Regions from separate parts of the Homo sapiens genome. Here region 1 is linked to region 2. The links are contacts of gene promoters, found by promoter capture Hi-C in blood cells and fetal thymus (Javierre and others, 2016). All regions are on one chromosome and are shown on one strand. The core of a region is centred on a gene start or on the middle of the fragment in contact, and the rest is flanking DNA. Distances in the headings are between cores, read along the strand shown.

Region 1 (4,248 bases), core at 48-2,547, 1.5 Mb after region 2:
TTCTCAAAGAAATTTGTTTTTCCTTCTAAAGAAATGTTTTCCATAAAATCAAAAGGATTTTCTGCCTGAAAAACCTAAAAAGGAAAGAAATATTATTAGACATTCTGAAGAGATCAAATTACATCCACAATAAGAGCAAAGATGACCAAAACAGAGGTCAGGTTTCTCAAAACCTATCTAGTCAGCTACAAGATCATATCATTCCCCTAAGACCCTGGAGGTACTCAAGGCTGACAAATTTTAAGATGACCCAAGATCAACCACTAATCTCCTCAAGAAACTGTACTAGCATCTCTGGTATTCTAATAAATAGAAAAAAAAACACAACTATTTCAGGAATTGAAATATTTAATACTAACCAATAGAAAATGTTCTCACAGCTTGAGATATCCAATACACCATGAGCATTTTTCATAGATATTACTATTAGTCAGACATACATGATACTATAAAATGTTAAATTAGCAACAATCCACTGTGGTTCTAAGTATGTTTCTTAGTTTATAAGAGAACAGATAATCAACAAATTGTCATTAAGGGAACATGATCAGGGAAGACAGAATAAATGTTATCCATAGTGACTAGATGTCTCCAAACAAAAAGGGGGACTATGCTAACAAGAAGCTTTTTTACTGCTTCAGAATTCAAGAAACAAGGCCGAGCATGGTGGCTCATGCCTGTAATCTCAGCACTTTGGGAGGCCGAGGTAGGTGGGATCACCTGAAGTCAGGAGTTTGAGACCAGCCTGACTGACATGGTGAAACCCTGTCTCTACTAAAAGTACAAAAATTAGCTGGGCGTGGTAGCAGATGCCTGTAATCCAAGCTACTCAAGAGGCTGAGGCAGGAGAATTGCTTGAACCTGAGAGGCAGAGGTTGCAGTGAGCCAAGATCATGCCATTGCACTGTAGCCTGGGCAACAGAGTAAGACTCCATTTCAAAAAAAAAAGAATTCAAGAAGCAGACTTGGAGATACAGCTTGATGGAAACTGTGGGATATTTCAGTGATTCACAAGGAGTAACAAAAGAGGATTTCTCAATTTAGGAGTATCCCAGCAAAAAATATGAACACTACAGATAAACATATATTCAAGTAACCCAATTTTAAATATGGGCAGAGTGTCTAAATAGACAAACTGATACTTCTTTAAAGAAGATATACAAAATGAAAAGATGCTCAGCATCCTTATCCATTAGAGACATGCAAATCAAGATCACAATGAGATACCACTTCCCACCTACTCGGATGGCTATAATTTTTTAAAAAACAGGTAATAAGTGTTGGTGCGGATGTGGAGAAATTAGAACCCTCATACAGGGTGGGAATATAAAATTGTGCAGCTGCTTTAGAAAACAGTCTGGTAGTTCTTCTAATGATTAAACATGGAGTTACCATATGATCCAGCAATTTCACTCCTAGGTGTATACTTAAGAGATATGAAAACATGTCCACACAAAAATGTGTAAATGAACGTTCATAGTAGCATTATTCACAATAGATCAAAAGAGGAAACAACTTAAATGTCCATCGAATGGATAAATAAAATTTGGTATATCCATACAGTGGAATATTATTTATTTGGTCATATAAAGGAATAAAGCACTGATACATGCTACAACATGAATGCACCATGAAAACACACTAAGGAAAGAAGAGAACCACAAAAGGCCACATATTATATGATTCCATTTGTATGAAATAGAATATGCAGAATAGGCAAATCTACAGACGCAGAATAGGCAAATCTACAGACACAAAAATTAGATTAGTGGTTGCCTAAGGCAAGGTGGGTAAGGGGAGGAAAGAGGAGTGACTGACTGCTAATAGGGATACAGTTTCTTTATGGGGTGATAAAAATGTTCTAAAATAGGTTGTTATGATGGTTGTACAACTCTGTGACTACACTAAAAACTATTGAATTGTACATTTTAAATGGGTGAATTGCATGCTATGTGACTTAATCTTTAAATAAAGCTTTAAATATTTATGTATCTTTTTTCCAAAAACTCATATGCTGGGTGTGGCTGAGTGAAATTCTATGAAATTCTCCATCAGAAATTGTGTGTAAAAAGTGAGGGAATATTGGAGCTGTAATATACAGCAAGATACAGTGAAAGGGCACTGAACCAATAGCCATAGACTCACTAGATGTTAGAACTGAAGACTTTTCAAAAAATTAGATCTAAGTCATTCATGGCATGGACAAAGTAACCAAGACCAAAAAAACAAACTAAATTAAGTGGCTTGTTTTTGGTGGGTTTTTTTTTTGACACAGAGTTTCGGTCTTTTTGCCCAGGCTGGAGTGCAATGGCACAATCTCGGCTCACTGCAACCTCTGCCTCCTGGGTTCAAGCGATTCTCTCGCCTCAGCCTCCCGAGTAGCTAGGATTACAGGCACCCACCACCATGCCCAGCTAATTGTTGTATTTTTAGTAGAGACAGGGTTTCACCATGTTGGCCAGGCTGGTCTTGAACTCCTGACCTCAGGTGATCCACCTGCCTCAGCTTCCCAAAATTTTGGGATTACAGGCATGAGCCACTGTGCCCAGCCTTATTATTATTTTTATTTGTAGAGATAGGGTCTTGCTATATTGCTGAAACTAGTGTGGAACTCCTGGGGTCGAGCAATCCTCCTGCCTTGGCCTCCGAAGTGCTGGGATTATAGGAGTCAGCCACAAGGCCCAGCTCCTACAAGTTTTGATACATAGTAATCATATTGTCATTTACTTTATATTTTCAATTAATTTTTATTTTCATTTTAAATCTCATTTTAAAGGAGATACATGTATATGCAGAGAGAGAGAGAGAGAGAGCGAGAGAGAAAGGGTCTCACTCTGTTGCTCAGGCTGGAGTGCCGTGGCACAATCTCAGCTCACTGCAACCTCTGCCTCCCAGGCTCAAGTGATCCTCCCAGCTCAGCTTCCCAAGTAACTGGGACTACAGGCATGCCACCAGGCCTGGCTAATTTTTTGTAGGATTTCGCCATGTTGCCTAGGCTGGTCTCAAACTCCTAGACTCAAGTGATTCTTCCACCTCAGCCTCCCAGAGTTCTGGGATTAGAGGTGTGAGCCACCGCACCTGGCCTAACGGATATATTTTTAATCTCTAAGTAGATTAAGCTTTTTGGCAATTTTTAAATCAGTTTCTACTTTCATTGCATTAAAAATCTAAGGCCTCTATAATTTCTGCTTTTTAGAATTTACTCAGATATTTTGAAGCCTGTGGAAAAACAAAGTTTTACATTGTGTTTAGACCTTCTCCTGCAGGAGGTGGCATGTTTTACATACCTACAGTTAGCAAGTTCCCAAAAGGAAAATTAGACCCAAGGGTCAGCAGTTTTCTAATAAGCAGCAGAACATGAACGTGTGGATGTGAGGATATGGTAATGGGTTAAAGAATAGCGAATTCACTGTAAGGCTTAAATAAGCAAATTCATTTTCTAATAACAAAAATATTGGTAAAAGTTATGAACAAACACAATTTCTTTTAATATACATAGTTTATAAGTTTAAGAGATTATATTAATATAGTTATAATCTTGATTTCTCATTAATTAGTAAACACAGAGAGGATCTTGCAACTAAAATGTTAAAATGTAGTTTATCTTACCAAAAAAACCTACGCCCCACTTGACTTTTTCATTAAGTACCTGGGTGGTTATCAGAATATAATTCTGCTATATCTGCTAATACAACATTAGCAAGATAGGTAATGATTACCACAGCATCATAGATTTCATAAGGATTCTCATTAAAGATAATTTGAACTTACATTTTCATGACAAGAAATCAAAATCTGTATTTCTAATTACCATGGTATAGTACATAGTGAATTTCTGTGTTTCACTTAAGTACAAAGTGACCATCTAGTGTGAGTTTATTATGTGTCTAATATTATTTTAAGTGCTTTAAGTGTATCAACTCATCAACAATCCTTTGTAGTAAATATTATTACTATCTCTAATTTATAGATGAGGAAACTGAGATAGTTAAGCAACCTGCCAAAGGTCACACAGCTAGAAAGTGGTGGAACCAGGATTCAAACCCAGATAGTGTGGCTGCAGGCTCCATGTCTTAAGTAATGGGAAAACCGCACTGATGAAATTCAGGTACATTATCTCTGATAAATGACAAAAATAACTTGAATAACTCTGTTCAAAGAGTTATATTGTGACAGTTAATGTCTTCCTAATAACTATTCCCTATTTAAAAGTATTAACTCCCAAACCACAATATAGACACATGGCGA
Region 2 (4,656 bases), core at 438-2,937:
GGTATCATGGGCCACTTTTAAAAATAAAAGAGAAACTTGAACTTCTTGCATGCTACAGATAAGACTGGTCCAGTTGGAATTACACTAAAGTAACATTTTATAGCCAAAGTTGACTATTTTATAAAGAAAAGCCCCTCAAAACGACAGGAACTATTTCAGAAGGTAACATAATATACTCGAAAACCACCAGTACTGTGAATCTAAGATAAAATTTGACTAAAAATGGTCTAAGTTGCCTGAGAAAACTGGCCTTCAAAGTGGTCGGCTGCCACATCCCCTCCTCCCACTCTGCCCTTTTAATGTTAGAGAAATGCTTGATCTAGGGGAAACCCCAAATGCATGTCTCCGGTAAATTCCATTCCTAGATCCATCAGTCACTGATGAGTTCTGGGAAGTGGACTCACAAGCCTGAGGACCACCACCACACCACACATCGCCACAGGAACTTTATCCTAAGGCCTGGTGGCTCCCCCAGGCGACTGGGCCAGGAGCAGGAGCAGAAGCAGGCCTCGGGCCTGCGAGGTTACAGGGTTCAACACGTGGTATTTTTCGAGCACAGAACTGCACTTCCTCCCCAGGCTGGGGCGCCGGCAGGAGCTCCGGGTGGTGGGAGCGCCTCCACCTCTTACCCACGGAAGGAGCTCAGCGTTCAACGCCCCAGAATCCCGGGGCCACTGGCGGGAGCGCCGCGGAGGAACCGAATCTCACCCACCCTCCCGGCGCGTCATCACCCTAAAGTTTGAGAGCGTCTGAGGCCGAGAAAATGGTCGCAAAGGAGGAAGTAGCCGGGCGTGTGGCTGCCGGCAGCGCGGGTCCCCGCCGGCTCGGGAAACGCGGCTCCAGGGACCCCGGCGCCTTCCCGCCGGCCGTCGCGGGGTGACATGCCCTCCCGCCCCCCTCCCCGGGCCCGCCGGCCTACCCCGCCCGCCGCCGCCGCCCGAGCCTCATGGCCGCCCGCCCGCCCGGCCGACCGCGGAGCCCGGCGCTCACCGTCCGCCGGCTGCTGGAAGTTCACATACGCGTAGCCCAAGGAGCGGCGGGTGATCATGTCCCTGCAGACCCGGATGGAGAGGATGGGCCCGGCCGGGCTGAACTTCTCGTAGAGCATCGCCTCGGTCACGTCGGGGTGGAGGTCCCCCACGTAGAGCGAGGCCATGGGGTAGCTGGGGGCACTGGGGTTCATCTCGGCACGGCTGCCCGCAGGGCCACAGGCCGCGACCTTTCCGTGAGAGGAGGAGAGCGAGTGCCGGGGCTGGGGGCCGGAGCCGGGGGGAGGGGAGCGGGGAGCAAGCGCAGAGGGACAAAAATCAACCGGAATTGAAAACTACTCAACGGCCGCAGAACGGGGTCGATCCACTGCCGCTGGCTGCCGGCTGCCGGCGGGGAGCGAGGGTGGCGGTGTCGGGTCCGGGCAGCGGGAAGGCCTCGGTCTCTTGGTTCCTTCTTGGAGCTGCTGCGGGGCCGCGGGCGGGCGGGTCGGTCTCGGCTGCTTCACCGGGTTATTTTATAAAAGAGGAAGAAAAAAAATAAAAGTCTCCGGCGGGGGAGACGCGGATTTTTTGTAAATTTTTTTGGGGTTTTTTAAAAGATTTTTTTAGATTTTTTTTGGATTTTTTAATAATAAATGTGTGTTCCGAGCCCGGAGCACACACTCCGCACTCTCAGCACTAACCGCCGGGGAGAAGGGGAAGCACCGCCTCCTGCACCCTCTACTTATACCCCGCGCCGCACTCGCCCCGCCCCCGCGCGTCTGACGCCAGGGCCCCTACGCGAGCGTCAGCGCCGGAGTAGGAGGAGACGCGGAGGCCAGGGGGAGGAGGGAAGAGAAAACAGGAGGAAAGAGCAGAGAGGAAGGGAGAGGTGGCGGCGGTGGAGGCTGCGGTGTGGGGGTGGGGCTCGGGCGAAGGGGCGGGGCTTTTGCGCAGGCGCCGCGGCCGGGGAAGCGGAGCCCGCGCTGCGTCGCGTCCGTGGGGGTGGGGAGGACGGCTCGCGGGCGGTCCTCGGGGGTGTTGGCTGAGGCGTCCCCGCCTTCCGCCCCGCCCGCCCCTGCCTCCACCAGGAGGAGCGTTAACCCGTCACCGCGGCGGTGGGCGGTGCAAAGGGCTTCCGGGTTCCTCCGCGCTAACCACCCCCCACGTGCGCGGCCGCCTGTGGCCTCTTCCCGCTGCGGCCGGCCCGGCTCCTCTAGCCCCAGCTCCGGGGGACGCCGGGCACGGGTGAGCGGGCGTGGTCCCCTCCGGGCCCGGTTTCCGAAACGTGCGTAGATGGAGCCAGCGTGGCCCCCTGCTCTCTCCTACCCGGACCGCACTACGAGTCCCAGCCGGCACCGCCGCCACGCGCGTCGGCCGCAGAAGCGGTGCCTGCTGGGAGCTGGAGTCCCCAACGGCCGCGGCGCTCGCTGACACCAACTGGCTGCGCGGGTCCTGGCCGCCCGCTCCGGGACCCCCCAACCGTCCTGCGCGCTGGACCCCGGCACCGCTGGAGCTCCCGGCGCGGGGTTGGGGGGCAGGGAGAGAGAGGGGAGGGCCCCTCGGGTTCCTCGTCCTCTTCTTTTCCAGCCCGACCCTCCTCCGTGTCTTCACTGGACGTTGTCGTTGGTCAAAGTGGCTTTAATTTGGGATAGCTGTGTTGGGGGTCTTTGGTCACTTCTTACCTTAAGGTGCTAGGCTGGAATCATTGATTTGTGCTGCTTCTGCCAGACATTTCTTGGCGATAGAAACCAGGAGTGGAGAAAAGTGAATGTTTTTCCTGAAAGTACGGGTTTGTCACAATCACTACTATATGGCACCACAGCCCTGCAACCAGACAAAATTAGGAATAGTCTAAAACAACGTCCTTATAAATAACTAAAACAATTCTGCACATTAGTAGTGGGTTTTAATAGGAATGCTAAATTTAACGAATTGATAGTAATAAAAACCGGCTCTAGGAATGACATTAAATCAACATACAAATTCCACTCGAAAGTAGTAAAGTGCTTTTACAGTTTTTAAAGCACTCGCGTAAACATACTATCATTTGTTCCTGAGAGCAATCTGGTGTGGGAGGTGGAGCAAGTAGTAATAATTTTACTTTACTGTTACAGGAACAGTCTCAAAGAAGTTAAATGATTGCCCAATTTATTCCTTAATTCAATAAACTTTAATGGATGTCAACTGTATTGCTAGGTGTGGAATTAAGTACTTTATATCTTGTCTCATTTAATTAGAATTTAAACCAGTGGAATCCCACATAAATACTATTTTGCTCCTATTAAAAAGAGGATAAAATGTGACCGGGCGCGGTGGCTCACTCCTGTAATTCCAGCACTTTGGGAGGCTGACGCACGCTGATCACTTGAGGTCAGGAGTTCGAGACCAGCCTGGCCAACATGGTGAAACCCCGTCTCTACTAAAAATACAAAAAGTAGCCAGGCGCGGTGGCTCACGCCTGTAATCCCAGCACTTTGAGAAGCCAAGGGGGGCAGATCACGAGGTCAAGAGATCGAGACCATCCTGGCCAACATGGTGAAACCCCGTCTCTACTAAAAATACAAAAATTAGCTGGGCGTGGTGGCGCGCGCCTATAGTCCCAGCTACTCGGGAGCCTGAGGCAGGAGAATCGCTTGAACCCGGGAGGCGGAGGTTGCAGTGAGCCAGGATTGCGTCACTGCACTCCAGCCTGGTGACAGAACGAGACTCAAATAAATAAAAAATAAACAGTTGTTAGGCTTCCAGGGCAGCTTGACAGGCAGTGATGCCCTGGATGGTAAATGGAAGCATTCTCATCACTAGAAAAGTATATTAGTGCTTTGTAGGTGAATACATAGTTTGGGAAGGGAGCCAGTCATCAGGACGTCTATGCAGCTGTGGCTCTTGCACTTAGTAGATGTCATTGTCATATTTTATGGAGGTACAGTTGAGTATGTGCAAGGGAAAGTAGAAGCAAAGTCCATACCTGAGGACAAGGAGCTGCTATTTAATAGAATAGGAGAGAGAGTCAGAGCCCAGGAGGAAACAGGAGTGGGATCTGGAACTGAAACCAAGAACCTGTTCCCTTGATCCATCAATCACCTCTTTTTATTTCCAGCCAGCTGCTTTCGCTCAGATCAGAAACTGGTCAATTCAGATCAAAAAGAAAACAAACCAATCTTCTCTTAATGACATATTCCTCTCTCATTCACTTTTTTTTCATAGCCAAGCTTTTCATTTCTGCTTTCTCTCTCCTTAGTTCCTCAACACTACCGTATGACTTCCAGCTGCACTCAAATTGCCCCATCAACAGTTGCCAATGATCCCTGTTCTATTTGACAAATCCAATGGACTTTCTTCAGGTCCATTTTACTGGACATCTGCAGAGTTTGACACTGTTTTCCTCCCTCTCTTTTGTCACACACTCTCTTGGCGTCTGGGCTACACTTTCCTGGTTCTGCCTCTCAGATTCTTCCTCCTCTCCGCCAGTAACTTACCATTCCCTGACCACCAGGTAGGATTGGGCACCCTTCCTTTGGTTTTTCCCCTGCCCCCCGCCAACCCTGCCACTACATTTACTACGTTATATCAAAATAGTGTGTTTATGAGCGATCTCCCAAAATAAGTTGTAAGCGCCAAAAGAAGGCTTATGTCATGTTTATCTGCATCCCAACCATCTACCGTGAAGCCTGGCACACTGAGGGTG

Evidence for each region. Contacts are between HindIII fragments. The CHiCAGO score rates a contact against its expected background, and 5 or more counts as called.
Region 1: a contact is called between a fragment that was not itself captured here and the fragment with the promoter of PABPC1 in region 2, in 1 of 17 cell types (neutrophils). The highest score is 5.5, in neutrophils.

What each region holds. Positions count from the first base shown.
Region 1 is chr8:102,208,212-102,212,459 of GRCh38, forward strand. It overlaps RRM2B (ribonucleotide reductase regulatory TP53 inducible subunit M2B), which reads right to left. Exons shown (of 9, transcript NM_015713.5): 9 at 1-74. Among named protein-coding and RNA genes, the nearest start is that of RRM2B, 29 kb to the right of the region's middle. The HindIII fragment of the contact is 1,350 bases long and covers 623-1,972 here.
Region 2 is chr8:100,720,401-100,725,056 of GRCh38, forward strand. It overlaps PABPC1 (poly(A) binding protein cytoplasmic 1), which reads right to left and starts at 1,688. Exons shown (of 15, transcript NM_002568.4): 1 at 991-1,688. The coding sequence starts at 1,183. RefSeq lists silencers at 865-974, 1,655-1,734, 1,815-2,524 and enhancers at 927-1,759, 1,814-2,314, 2,315-2,815. The HindIII fragment of the contact is 6,173 bases long and covers 1-4,178 here.